Regions from separate parts of the Homo sapiens genome. Here region 2 is linked to region 1. The links are contacts of gene promoters, found by promoter capture Hi-C in blood cells and fetal thymus (Javierre and others, 2016). All regions are on one chromosome and are shown on one strand. The core of a region is centred on a gene start or on the middle of the fragment in contact, and the rest is flanking DNA. Distances in the headings are between cores, read along the strand shown.

What was found. The method cuts DNA at HindIII sites, captures the fragments that hold promoters and counts their contacts. A CHiCAGO score of 5 or more calls a contact.
Region 2: a fragment that was not itself captured here is called in contact with the fragment with the promoter of MSANTD4 in region 1 in 1 of 17 cell types (naive CD8 T cells); the score reaches 5.1 in naive CD8 T cells.

Annotation. Positions count from the first base shown.
Region 1 is chr11:106,019,495-106,027,179 of GRCh38, forward strand. It overlaps MSANTD4 (Myb/SANT DNA binding domain containing 4 with coiled-coils), which reads right to left and starts at 2,746. Exons shown (of 3, transcript NM_032424.3): 1 at 1,468-2,746. RefSeq lists enhancers at 2,268-2,387, 3,218-3,287 and a silencer at 2,718-2,827. The HindIII fragment of the contact is 3,155 bases long and covers 1,541-4,695 here.
Region 2 is chr11:101,900,017-101,907,701 of GRCh38, forward strand. It overlaps ANGPTL5 (angiopoietin like 5), which reads right to left. Exons shown (of 9, transcript NM_178127.5): 3 at 7,087-7,231; 4 at 5,728-5,831; 5 at 4,798-4,891; 6 at 2,605-2,705; 7 at 414-534. Among named protein-coding and RNA genes, the nearest start is that of CEP126, 11 kb to the right of the region's middle. The HindIII fragment of the contact is 295 bases long and covers 5,457-5,751 here.

The DNA.
Region 1 (7,685 bases), core at 1,496-3,995:
CTTGGACTATCACACATATATTTCCCCAGGTCATCTTCCCCATTTCCATGGTGTCTGCCTTTTCGTCAGGCCAATGCCTACTCATCCTTCAGCACTCTTGTTTAAATGTCTTCTGTTCCAGGATCTCTTCACTGTTCCCATTCACCTAAGTCTGATGTCCTCCCTATGTGCTTCCACTATCAGCTTTATTACACCACTGATTTACATTAGGAGCAATAAGAGATCAGATACGAATATATTATTCCTGCTATCAAATAATTTGCAACTTAGTAAAACACAGATGCATAAAAAAAGTACATAAACAAATTGTAATGAAGTCTGTAACCTGAAGGTTGTGAATACAGACTACCTAAGGCTGTATGCCAATTCCACCACTTAACTAGCTCTGTGATCTCCAGCGAATTACTTAACCTCTTAAACTTGTTTCTTCATCTATAAATGGGAATAATAGACTAATACTCGTGATGTTTTGAAGATTAAAAGAGATAAACCGATTAAGAAGTTTATCATGCCTAAGACATAGTAAGCCCACAAATGTCAGCTATTATCCATTGCCCAGTACAGTATCTGAATGTAATTAACAAATATTTCTTCACTGGATGAATAATGCAAATATACAAAAACTACAATAAAGAAATACTAACAAAATACTCTGGATATTCATAAGAAAGACAAATCTTTGATGGGATCAAGGAATGTTTTGAGTCAGAATCAGCATTTGATTTGGGTCTTATAAAACAGACTAATGAGGGACAGAAATAAAAGAAAGAAGTATCAGGAATTAAAGCTGGAAAATTAGGATAGTGCCAAGCAGCAAATCTTACTAAGCGAATTCTGGCTTAATAAGACTATTATTTGCTAAAAATGAACTGAAAGAGACAAATATAACTGTGAAAGTTTTTTGAAATTCAAGCAGGCTACCATTAATATGGAAGAACTGTTACTGTAGTAACATATAAATATATAACCAATATAAGTATATAATAAAAATGATTGAAGTTGTCGAGAGTCCAAATTTATGCAGATATCCACCGTAAGATTTTGCTCTTAGAATCTGAGATCAATTTAGAAATCGCATTGTTGTAAATGTATTGGTACATGGTAGAAATAGCAGTCCTTTTGAAGTACCACTGAGTCAATATATTTTTAAAGTTTGACAGCAGCTGTTGCTATTTGCAGGGCCTATTTTTGACCAACAATTCCTAACTCCATATCTCTAACTTACAAAGTGGTATCCCGTTGTCCTGACTGATCTATTCTGAACTGATGAACTATTTCATTTAATCAAATGGGCTTTAATACATTTTTAACCTGACTGAAATTGATATTGGGATGCACCTTAGATACCCAGTCTTGGCTTAATTGTGTGAAAATCTTCTTCTAAAACCTTGATATTTTCTGATTAAGTGCAAGAAAGTGCCAGCATTGATGCATCTTGAGTTGTTGAAGTTCTGTAGATATGCTTACCTGGATAAAAGCCATTTCCAGAAATGTTTGTCTTCCTGTCCTCTCCTTTATATGCCGGTATCCAAGTAACAGAAGCTTGGGTTTTCTACCATCCATTCATTCCCCAATAATTTCCTCAAAAAATACTTACTGAGCTCCTACTGTGTGAAAGGCACTATTTTTGGTGCTGGGGATATAACACCTCATAAAATGTGAAAATATGTCATTTTAGATGTCAAACACTATCCCTTTTCTATTGCCTGTCATCGCTCTCTTAGCAGAAAGGATTCAACAGCTGCAGTCTCTAAAACTTACAAACCTTCTATGCCCAATCACAGAGAACAGCCATTTTCTAAAATCCCATTTCACAATCGTTCTTCACTAGTTGGAAACAGGAATGAGATGTAGTTCACTTACGTAATCCTTGTGAAGATGATGTACTGCCAATGGCATAATATAACCAGGCAACTTTTTACAAGCACTAAAACTTGAGAATGAAGTTCCTAGATACTTCATGATAAGTCAGAATTAAGAAGTCTGAGAAAAACCAGACGGCAAGTTCCGGATCAAAAAAATTTGAGGGTAAATTAGTTAAGCAGTTCAAGAAGAAAAGCATCACAAATCTACAATATCAAACCCTACCCAAATTCTCTTTAAAGTGTGGCTTTCCCCTCCCCTATATTCTTATAGGGGATTCACTTCCCTGCCAAAAAGTATGTTCTTCTCTAAAACTCGTGGTAGGTGCATAACAAGTATACTTATGGGTCGACGGTTATCAAAGTATCTTTCACCTCCCTCCCGCTGCCTCCTTTGGGACCGTCCAAAAAGAGCCCCTGGGAAGAATCGAGTTAGACTGGGCTCCCGGAAGGCCACCCAGGGGAGCAGGGGCGCGCACCTGCCTCGGCCACAATGATGAGGTTGCTGCTGGTAGGAGTCCCGGTGGGAGTCGGGGCAACCTGGAAGATCTCCTCTCTCTGGGTATTAAATGAGAGTCCCGACTGAGTGCCCAGAAACTTCTGCAGTCTTGTTTCCGTGGCCTGGGCCCTCCCCAGCCTCCCCGGTCAGGCGACAGACGCGCGTGGCACTTCTCCCGAGCGTGCAGTCCCGCTACGTCGCAGCCCTTGGACCAAACCCGGCAGCAAGCGTTGCGCCAATTGCCGCTGACCCCTCCGGGACCCTACCCACTGCGAGGGCACCCACTGGTCACGGAGCCGCCGCTTCCCTGGCCGCCTCCTCCAGCATAGAACCGCTCACCTGCGACCCCGGCGGCACCTCCCCACGGTCGCCCCAAGGGGGGTAGGAAAAAAGATGCTTCATTGATCCCCCGCCCACTAACTGGGCCCGCCCATCTCCCGCCACCCCAATGGCTCATATGGCTGCCGCTCATTTGATGAGTCTCATCCATTGGTTAGAATGGTGTAGCCATTCTGGCTGAGAGCCCGCCCTAGGCCTGGCCTCACAATGGGAATCAAGTCCCAAACCGGTTCCGGGTTAGTGCCCTGGAATTCCGCCCCCTCGTGATTCACCTCCCTGTCTGTGCCCCGTCTGTGGCGCGCAGCTCTGTCAGTCAAGTGGACTCTAGGAAGGGATTGGCCCCTAGAGATCCGCTTGCTGCGCTGTTCCAACTGATTGGGGCACTGGCCGCTGCATCTCCAAACTCGTCTCTTGTCCTTGACCCTCACCTGTTAAAAGGGCAAAGAAGAAGTAGGAAACTTGTGCTGCTCCAGTCGGGTTCTTAGGCCAGCATCACCTTCTCCTCGACCAGCTGCGACCTAATTGGCCTCAGCCATTCCTCTAAGGCTGCCCGTGCCAAAGGTCGCTGGTGACTTCCTTATGGCTAAATCTAGGAGTCACTTCTTAGTCCTTATCATACTATATACTTCCCAGAAGACATTTGAATTTTTTTTTTTTTTTTTTTTTTTTTTTACCATTCTTCACTGTTTCCCCAAATATGTGCTTCTGCTTTCTTCTCTCCCAGTCCTCCTCTATATTCAAGTTTGCAGTTGCTTATTTTCTGCCGTCTCACGTTCAGGTGTTTGTGATTAGTGCACCTTTCTTCCCGCTGCCTCTGTCCAGGCCTCTGTGGACTCACCTGAATTCCATCAGTAGCCTCCTAGCTGGTCTCCCAACATCCTGTCTGCCGGACTGTAGTTCATTCTTCACGTTGTAGCCAAAATGAGCTGCTTAAAGTTTTTTAGTGGAATCTCACCACTGGTGATACAGTACAAACTCCTTATCGAACCTGAAAAATAAGGCACCTACTTTTCCCTCAACCTTCATCTCTCGACATTATACCCACATTTCTTCTTCCTTACCCCATTCCCTTTGCTTCTTTCAGTTCCTGAACTCTACAGTGGCTACTGGGAAGTCAGTTTGCATTGCTGTGTTTCCTCCCTGCTTCTCCGCTATGCCTAGCATTCATTTTTAGAAATTCCTTTCTAAAGGAAGGCTTCCAAAATTATCTCCATTCACCCTCCCTCCACTTCCAAGTATTCCCTTCCCTGTAGGTTTGCCAGATAAAAACAGGACGCTCAGTTAAATTTGAAGTTCAGATAAAAAGCAAATAATTTTTAATCTGTCCAATGGAATATTTGGTATCCATATGTTTATTTGCTAAATTTAAAAAAATAAAAATTTTTGTTTACTAAATCTGCAAGCCTACTTCAGCGAGCTCTCATCACGGCCTTTCCTCTGACAGCACTTCCCACATATTTTATGTGGGTGGGGCTTTTCTTGTTTACTGTTGTGAATAACACAGTGCCTAGAATGTAACAGACAAAAAAGATTTGGTAAATAAATGGTGGAATATTCTGGAGGAATGGTGCATCCTTGCTGGATATTCTTGGAGGAACTCTCCCATAAAATAGGAAGTAATTATGAAATATGCTCTTTAAAATGTAATGATCAGATTGATCTTACAGATTGTTACTTATGACTTTGTCAGTAAGTATAGACATGTTTGTCAAAGAAGCATGTCTATACTTTTGCCAAAGTAGATCAAAAGAAACTTGTAATTTTTGGAAAAATACAAGTTGTATTTTATAATTTTGGATTTTGTTCATGGTGGGTGGTGTTTTTTTGATGAGTGCAGTGAGAAAGTAAGATAACTAGCTATCCCCATCATAACCAGACACTATCAGTTCTGTTCAGAACCTGTCCACCACTTGACTCTGTTTATTTACCTCAGTAATGGGGACAAGAATGGTGAATCAGTATTAACAAACTTTTGCTTTCGTATCATGAACTCTAAGCTTTCCCCAATTAACCTCAGTCTCTTTGCTAATTGAAGTATCTTTTCCAAATACCCTCACTATTTCCTCTCAGCTACATCTTGTCTGAGTGGATATGGACCAACAATGAAGAATTTGAAGGTAATCCATAATGTGTACTATCAGTACTCCATGATCAACCTGTTTGCTGATTTAATTTTTCTTAAGTCCAGGCTAGAGATTTGACCCAAAGATACTTACACACTTACTTTACAACTGTGCTGTCCAACTGTGATAGCCAGATGAGTCATTGGAATGTGGCTAGTACAACCAAATAACTGAATTTTAATTTTATTAATTTTAATTAACTTTAATTTAAAAACTGATATTTGATTCAAGTTACTAGATACTTCTATTTGGAAAATTTGGGTTATGTGTATACTTTTTCAATTGTAAACTTTTTGAAATCTAAATATAGATCAAGTATTTCTGATTTAAAAATAGTGTCTGAATTGAGATGTGCTGTAAGTGTAAAATATATGCAGGATTCCAAGATTTAGCATGAAAAAAATAAATATCTCACTAATAATTTTTGTGTTGACTATAAGTTGAAATTATAATTTTTGCATAATTAGGTTAAGAAAAATATATTATTAAAATTAATTTTACCTGTTTTTAAATTGTTTCCAGCTTTATTGAGGTATGATTGACAAATAAAAATTATATATATTCATGATGATTTGATATACATATACATTGTGAAATGATTACCACAATCAATACATCCATCACCACACATAGTTACCATTATTTGGTGGGGGGGGGTGGGGGGGGGAGGTGAGGGCACTTAAGATGCACTTTCTTAGAAAATTTCAAGTAAACAATATAATATTAACTATAGTCACCATGCTTTATGACAGATTCCCATAACTTACTCATTTTATAACTGGAGGTTTCTTCACAACCCCCAGCCCTGGCAGTACCATTCTGCCCTCTACTTCTTTGAGTTCTACTTTTTTTTTTTTTCCTTTTAGAGACAGAGTCTCACTCTGTTGTCCAGGCTGAAGTGCAATGGAATGGTCATACCTCACTGCAGCTTAGAACTCCTCGGCAAACGTGATCTTCCCACCTTGCTAGGACCCCAGGCATCGCTGCCACATCTGGCAATTTTTTTTTTTTTTTTTTGGTTGAGACAGGGTCTCACTGTGTTGCCTAGGCTGACTAGAACTTCCAGCCTCAAGCAGTCCTTCCACCTCAGCCTTGCAAAGTGCTTACAGGTGTGAGCCACTGCATCTGAGTAGAATTCAAGTTTTTGTGATTCCACATATAGGTGAGATCATACAGTATTTGTCTTTCTGTGTGTGGCTTATTTCACTTAGTATAACGTCCTCTTGATGCAAATGGCAGAATTTCCTTCATTTTTACGGCTGAATAATATTCCATTGTGCATATGTATATGTATATGTATATGTATATACATATACACACCACAGGTTCTTTATGAACTCATCCATAGATGGACACTTAGGTTATTTCCATATCTTGGCTATTATGAGTAATACTGCAATAAACATGGAAGTGTAGATATGTCTTTGACATACTAATTTCATTTCCTTATTAATATATACCCAATAGTGGGGTTGCTGAATTGCTGAATTGTATGGTTGCTCTATTTTTAATTTTTTGAGGAACCTCCATACTTGTTTTCATAATAGTTGTACCAATTTCTATTCCCACCAACAGTGTACAAGGGTTTTCCTTTTCCCATGTCCTCACCAACACTTGTTGTCTTTTTAAAAACTAATAGCCATTCTGACAGCTATGAGGTGACGAGTCATTGTGGGTTTGATTTGTATTTCCTTGATGGTTAATGATGTTGATCATCTTTTCATATACTTATGGGCCATTTGTATGTCTATTTTGGAGAAGTGTCTATTTAGATTTTTTTGTCCATTTTTCAATCAGGTTATTTGTTTTTTTGCTATTGAGTTATATGAATTCCTTATATATTTTGGATATTAATCTCTTACCAGATATATGGTTTACAACTATTTTTATTCCATAGGTGCTTTTCCATTTGTTTCCTTTGCTGTACAGAAGGCTTTAAGTTTGTTGTAGTACCACTTATTTTTGCTTTTCTTTGTGCTTCAGTGTCTTATCCAAAAAATCATTGCCAAGACCAATGTCAAGGAGATTTTCCCCTATGGTTTCATTTAGGAGTTTTAGAGTGTCAAGTCTTGTATTTACATCTTTAATCCATTTCAAGTTAATTATTGTATGTGGTATAAGATGAGGGTCCAATTTTATTCTTTTCTATGTGGATATCCATATACAAAAGTTTTCCAACACCATTTATTGAAGAGACTATCGTTTTCACATTGCATATTGTATATATTCATTGACACCTATATCAAAGATTAGTTGACTGTATGTGAGTGGATTTATTTCTGGCTTCTCCATTCTGTTCCATTGGTATGTGTGTATGGTTTTATGCTAGTACCATACTATTTTGATACTGTAGCATTGTAATACAGTTTGAAATGAGGAAGTGTGATACCTCCAACTTTGTTCTTTTTTCTGAATATTTCTTTGGCTACTTGTGTTTTTTTATTTTTTTTAATGAGGCTAATAGAAAATTTGAACTTTTATGTTGATGTGGTTTGGCTGTGTCCCCACCCAAGTCTCATCTTGAATTGTAACTCTCACAATTCCCACATGTCTTGGGAGGAGCCCAGTGGGAGGTGATTGAATTACAGGGGTGGGTCTTTCCTGTGCTGTAATCATGATAGTGAATGTAACAGACACTCAAAAAATATTTGGTTAATAAATGATGGAATATTCTGAATGAATGGTAAATCCTTGCTGGATATTCTTGGAGGAACTCTCCCATAAAATAGGAAGTAATTATGAAATATACGCTTTAAAATGTAATGATTGGTGTAAGCTTACAGGTTATTACTTATGACTTTGTCAGTAAGTAGAGACATGCTTGTCTCTACTTACTCATGAGAGTCTCATGAAATCTAATGG
Region 2 (7,685 bases), core at 4,354-6,853, 4.1 Mb before region 1:
TTGCACAGACACATACCTCAATTCGCCATTTCATTGGCTTGTATAGATACAACACACCTCTCAAGAATTTTAAGATCTAGGACAACGCTGCCATTCAGTTTTTCGTTCTGCAAACCGTTGGTGAGCACCTGCCAGAATTCTGCTGGGTGCATAATAGATACTTAATACATATCCAATCTAGAATTTTCACTCAAATCACATTTCACCAGATATCTACAAATAAAGATTTCCAGATCTCCACTGAAGACCTACTTATTTTAAATAATCTGGCATATGAAAAGAGGGTGATTTAAGTTATATTTTGATATTTGCAAGCATTTGCTATTTTTACTACAGATCTGACCAATAGAGGCTCTATAGATATAATATCAAAAAGAGTAAACAATGTAGAGTAGAAATACAAAAAAATTAACCTAGAAGATCTCCAAATCCATCCAGATAATCACACCACAACCTCTGGAAATCAATTATCCCATCAATTCTTTTCTGTATCACAGTCCGTCCACCTCCTCTGTAATCCATGTCACACATTACCTAAAATAAGCACAGAGAAGACCAAAATAATACACTATTATTTTCATTATTTGATAATATAACACTCATGCTTCATCCTTAGGCTTAGAAAAAGAGACGGTACTGCCACTGAGTTTTCAATGCAATCATATGCCATTAATTTATTCAGATGTTTTTTATATTTCTAGAAATAATACTGTTTATTATAAAGCAAACCTGTAATTAACCTAAATAATACTGTTTATTATCAAACAAATTTGTAATTAACTTAATCACAGTCCTTATAACAATCATTTTTAAAAATATGTATTTGCAGCTTTTTTTTCCCCCCTTTTTTTTTGAGACAGAATCTCCCTCTGTCGCCCAGGCTGGAGTGCAGTGGCGCGATCCCGGCTCACTGCAAGCTCCGCCTCCCGGGTTCACGCCATTCTCCCGCCTCAGCCTCCCGAGTAGCTGGGACTACAGGCGCCCGCTAGCACCCCCGGCTTTTTTTTTTTTTTTTTTTTTCTTTTGTATTTTTGTATGTTTTAGTAGAGACGGGGTTTCGCTGTGTTAGCCAGGATGGTCTCGATCTCCTGACCTCGTGATCCTCCCGCCTCCGCCTCCCAGAGTGCTGAGATTACAGGCGTGAGCCACCGCGCCTGGCCGTATTTGCAGCATTTTAAAGTTATCCTCTTATTACTCAACTTTATAAATATTCTTCAGTTTGTATAACAGTATTGCTCTGATGTGGCAGAGCAATGTATTTCTCTATAAACTAAATTTTGAATTAAAACACTGGGGGTGGGGGGGTGTGTGTGCACGGCTAAATATTTCACGTGCTTGTCTTTGCTCTTTTCTCCCACAAACCTGGAAGGCCTGTTTTCAGACTGGCATTTTCAGAGAAAGGCATGATCTGTGCCCACTCAGCAGGTGCTCATAGACACATCTGTTGATGCTGTGTAAAATGCCCCTAAAAGGACCTCTGTAGGGCACCCATAGAAGCGATATAGGGAAGAAATCAGAGCAAAATTCTCCCTCAGAAACTTCCCGCATAGAGACAGAGAAAAGGCAGTGTGGAGGAAGTTAAGGAACCAGCACTTTCCCACAAAAGAGGTGATTATGCATCCCACTCTTCATAAAATTAGAAGCCTTCCTTTTCCACATCTGTTCAGATCCAGTTTTGAATCTGTAGGTGAAGTAACTTAGGTAATTTTAAAATTATTTCCCACCTAATTTCCAATTTTTTGACATCTTGTCAATAGATTCCAAATAAAATAATGGTAGTAACTCTAAGAAGAGAAACCGGTAGTATTTACTTAGAAAAAAAGTGACTTTATTATCCAATAAAGACTATCAATAAGGTATAAGTATCATAAACTTTCTTCTGCACAAAGAAGTGCCCAGGAAAATATATATATAATATATATAACTGTATGTGTGTGTGCGTGTGTATATATACACACACACATATATATTCCATCAATATGCATAGTCTCTAGTAGAAATTTCTACTAGATATCCTTGCAGAGAACTACTAAGAATAGACATAAGAGTAATTTATTTTATCAATTTCAGAATGAATCAGCTTTTCAGTCTGCCTTGTACCCCACTGAAAGGTTTTTTAATTATTAATTTCTCATACAATCACATAAAATCATCTATCATCAGAAGAAATTATAACCATATACAGGAAGGGAAGTCAAAAGTATTTTTAGTAAGCTCCAAGGCAAAGCACACCATTATTTTCCAATATCCACAGGCTAATTAAAGCAAGCAAGTATTTATATTGCATAGTTCTGCCTGCTATAGTTCTGCCTGTTACGAGGATAATACAAGCTTTTGCATCACATGGATTTACTTTAAAGAGTATAACCATGGAAACTCAAATAGAAAAGTGAAAGACAGACTCTAGCTCTTTTATTAATTCATGTTTTGGGCATTAGAATTCTAAAAAACCAAAATTTTGAAAGTAGAACTTTACCTAATTTATTTAAAATTTTTTGAGGAAAAATTAAATATTAAAACAATTTAAATTTTAACATAAATTAAATTGGTTGGATGTTTATCTTAGCCCACATAATACGGGAAAACTTCAAATACGGGAAATACCTCAAATGGGTAGCTAGATCCTTCTGGGTGAATTATGTATAAACCACTCGGTGTTTTGGTGACAGAGCCAATGGTATCCTTAATATCAGTGCAATCTAAACCTAGAAAAGCAAAATTATTTAATTGGGATATTTTCAAATGTACATTTAAGGCAATCATTTTACTATAGAGAATTGATAGTGCTATTATCATAATTTTCATTATTATATTATTTTAACTTCTTCAAAATGAAAAATGGTCACAATTTTAGAAATAAAAAGAAAATATAAGGGATTAAAGAATTTATGCTGCAATAAGCCTTCACTTATAATGTCACTGTTAGTGATTAGTTTCCTATACTATTTAAAAGTTTCATTTGGGATCAACACTTATTAAACATATTTTATAATTACACATTCTCTTTACCAATAAATAATGCCATTTCAGAAATTTAGGTTTATCTTAGAGAATGTAATGTGTAAAGGAAATCTACATGAATAGGGAGGAGAAAACCAAAAGGAATAAGTAGATTAACCACTACAGACACATATTTCACTATTCTATTCCCAACTTCAGAGACTGATGTGTTTGGGACCACTAATACAAGTAGCCAAAGGAAGAAAGGGGAAAATCACTTTCTTCCCCAAGAAATTATGCCTGATGTTAGAGCCTACTCTGTTAACAACAGTTAGAATTATAGCACCCCATAATCACCTTCTCCAAAGCACTCATCTCCCCAGGATTGTAAACACGTGTATGTGGATATGGATATTACATTTTCTGGAAGATACTCTACTCTGTAGCATCTTTTATAAGTGAAATAAATTCAACCCTTAGAGCGTCCATTATCCAAATGCCCATCTTAACATCCTAGTTCTACTCCTAACACTTTACTTCATAGTGTTATCCTAACTATTTACGTAGTAAGGTATTACATAAAGCCTTTACCATAGTGCCCAGCACACCCAAATAATGAAGAAAATGCCATCTACAAAAAGTTAGCTATAAAAAGTCACTTGTTTTCCCCTTCGTCTCTGGGAGACATAGATTTGTTGTTGCCTGTATCCTTAATTGTTAAGAGATATTCTTATAATGACTTTATGCTCAGAGACATGAAAGAAGTTCACGCTGAAGGACCGATCTGGGTTGGAGTGTCTGCTATGTCATTACCTTTCAAATTAATGTGAACAGATTATTTCGATTTTTCTGGGCTGGATATTTCTTATCTGATGATGATGATCATAGCAAGCAAGCCCTTATATTGTTCTGCCTGTGATTCGGGCATTTTTTTTATTTCCTTGTGATAAACATTTGATTCGGGCAATATTTTAAGAGACTTTCCTGTATTTATTCACTTAATCCTCACATCAACTGTAAGAGGTAGGTACTATCAGTTTACTGATGAGAAAACATATCAAGAGAGCAGCAAGCAAGAAATTTGAAACCAAGGAGTCTGACATCAGAGTCCATGCTCCTGACTACCACATTATGCCTGCTTTGGGGCAGTTATGAGATATAATAAAATAATTTTAATAACAAAATAATGTGAGAAAGTGCCTGTCTTCCTACCTATCACATAGAAGATTTTTAGGCACTGTTTATTGTCTTCTTTTTCGAAGAAGGACATAAAGATCATGTTCTAGGCCCTCAATAATATTTATTTGCTTTAAACATTTGGGGATAAATTCATATTTATAAGATTTATAGGGTATTTTTCTTAGAAGTCCAAACCTCTAGGAATTAATATGCTGTATTTTAGTATAAAAAGTGCTAACTTTCAGTTTATTCTTGTCTTACATTTCTTTTTCTTTTCAAATTTTATGCCCCAATTTGAAACATTTCAAACATGTCAAAAACATTTTTTACAGGTGGGAGGAACTTTGAAACTTTCTTTTCTTCTATCTGAAGATGAATTATTAATAAGATATAAACTGGGAGTCCAGAACAAAGCTATAGAAAGCTATGTTATTTTCAACAGCTTCAGGATATCTTTATACAGCCATGGCTTTCACATGGTTGAAAAAGTTTCCCATTTTAAGAAAGTACACGTTGTCTATGGTGAAATTTGCTTAATAGCAGGTATTAGCCCTCCAGTCTGTTAGAGAACGGTGAGCTGTAGTTTTTAAATAAAACTTTTAAATGGATCGACCTGTCCAGGAAAATTTTAAGCAATAAAAGACAAACATGAAAAGGCTGAAATACCAAAGTTCTCACCATGTGACTGAACAGGTCTGTGAGGAAAAGGATCCAGCTGTTTTCTAAAAACTTCTGTAGTCAAAAGGAGAACTCTATTCATGAGCTCGTTAACCTAAACACATGCATACACATTTAAGTAAATTTATATTTGAAGAAATTGCCATCTCTAAGCCTCTCATAAACCCAGCTCTGAAATACGTAATGGTGCCCATTTTTCTAGATTGATTTCTTACTGCTTTAACAAAGAATAAAGGCAAAGCTAAATAGCAATCATTAAATTTCGTAGTATCTACCTCCTTAACGTTGATTTTATCTGCCCCGATTTCTGCATTTGGCTGCTCTTGCACATCTGCCCTTCATACCTTGTCCAAACCATTGCTGTAGTTTCTTACCTCCTCCTTTGGCTCTTCCTCAAGTCATTGGCCACACAAGTTAATCAGATTGTGGCATTTCCTTGCTTAAACACTACAGTGGCTCCTTGGTGTGGTATGACTTCGTTCTTGCCTATTCCTATAGTCAGTTTTCCTTAAATACTCAACCTCACCAGCCACTCCACCCTGTACCAACACCAAGAAGTTTCCCCAGAATGGAATGTCCTCTTCGCCTTACCCAACCTTTATGATTTTTAAAACATTTATTCATCCTTCATGACTGTTAACAGACTTTCTCCTCTGGGAAGCTTTTTGTATCTGAGAGTTCTCTTTTGTGCCATTCTAGCAACCACATTTTTGTCAACACATTTTAATGCTCCACTAGACCATACCCCTTGAATTAAGTTCGATTTTTTTACTGCTTTTTGTTTGCCTAAAGTTTACTATGGTGCCTCTAACATGGTAGGCGCTAAATAGATGTCTGAACATGAATGCATTTTAAAAAAAGATTATACCTCCAGCTAACTATACATCAACGTGTACATGCAATAACAACACAATACTAAAACATCTATACCTGATTAGATAAATAATCCAAGGAAGCTTGTTGCTCATCCATCATATTCCTTAGTAGTTTTTTGGTACTTCTTGTGTAGGAAACAATAGAATTTTGCAAATTTCCTTAACCATAATAAAAAGTGGCTGTTAAATATTATATTGTTACAGAAAACAATTACAGTGAAAAATAGTGAATTTTACCTGATTTTGGATATGTATGTTAACTCAATACTATCTCAATTTATCTTAATACTCAGAATTACATATTTTAGTTAGTATATCTTTTGTTTAACTCAGGATTAACCCCAGAAATGATTGTCTCAATACTTCTTAATGAAACTATGCTTCCTACTAATATAGATTACCCAGAATAATTAATCTGTTATCATTAAGAGACAGTGTTCTGATTATAAATTCTCACTTTATAAGATGAGATATATAGAGGCAGGAGTTATAGGATTCATCAATTCTTACTGTAAAAGAAAGTTAGTGGTGACAGTTTTATACCAGGCAAGTTAATTTTAAAAAGTACATCTTTGTTTTAATTTTTCTATTAATACTATATTTACACAATTAAATTGCTAGCACATACATATACATACACATAATAAATGTTAGTCAAAGGTTTTGGTTATTTGGTTTCTGACTAAACATTTACTATACATTTTCCTTTTAAAAATGTTTTTATCTTAAGAGAAAATTTCTTATAGCGAAGTTGCGATAACAGTACAAATAACTTTTTCCTAATGCCTTTGAGACCATGTTGCCATGATGTACCGTCATGCTATTTCAGTGTATATTTCTTACACCAAAGACATTTCTAATAACATACCACCAAAATTAGGAAATAAACATTCACTACCTATATTTCTCAGACCCTATGTGAGTTTTACCCAAGATAGTAATAATGTTGCCCCCTATAACAAAAGGGCCCACACACTATTACGTATGTTATTCTTTAAAATTTTATTTTCTAACTTTCTTTCCACCAGCAGTAGAATCACATTAAAAAATCTTGATATTTTTAATTCTACCTCACTCTGCTTCCTCTCTCTTTCTTATTTTCAGTCTGTCACTTTCTATTAGCTTTTTCCTGAATTTAGCCATCTGTCTTAATAGGTCTAAAGCTGCACTCATTGGTTTGAGAAGCCTGAGACCCTTTTGTTGCACACAGAATTAGCTACATAGAGAAAGGATCCATTCATTTACCAAATATTTATTAAGCACCTATTATGGGCCAAACAATAAAGCTTCTGGCCTAGGATGATCAGGATGTATAGAAAATGACCCAGACAAAAGCTAAAGTATACTTTTCAGTGTCTACCCTAAAAATAATGAATCATATACTCTTATTATTTTGTTTATTTTTAATACTTACTACACATGAAATGTTTTTCTTCTCGTGTAATTTTAGTTTTAACATCACATGATTCCTCACAGTCTTCCTTACAAACAGTATCATTACTTTTACTTTCATCTTTTGCATTAGATCCATCTTCTACAATGTTAACTACTGAAGAGTCCTTTATATTAAAAAATAGAAATAAGAAAAAAATACATTAAACATGTTATATGACCTAATACATAATAAAAAAGACTATAGAGAAAAGCTTAGATTTCAGGAAAGACAAGGCTGATCATTAGAGAGAAATATAAGCTATTTAATTCAAACTTCCACAAATAAACCTGATGAGTAAATAAAATCAAACGGACCAATTTCTTAATTTCCTGGGTAGCCACTCACAGGACAATATTTGAAATATGAAAGTTTGTGGAACAGCTTTTTTTTTAAGCAAAGTGATTTTTTACTACCTATCAGATATTTCATTGAAAAGTTGTGGGCTAGTTTTTAATCTAGGCCTGAAATGTCTTCAAAATATTTTCATATCTGTTGAATCAATCCTCAGTTTATAGTTTCCTCAGTTTAAATACAGTAATATTAAAGCAATTTTCAACATTTCTAAATACATGTTTTAA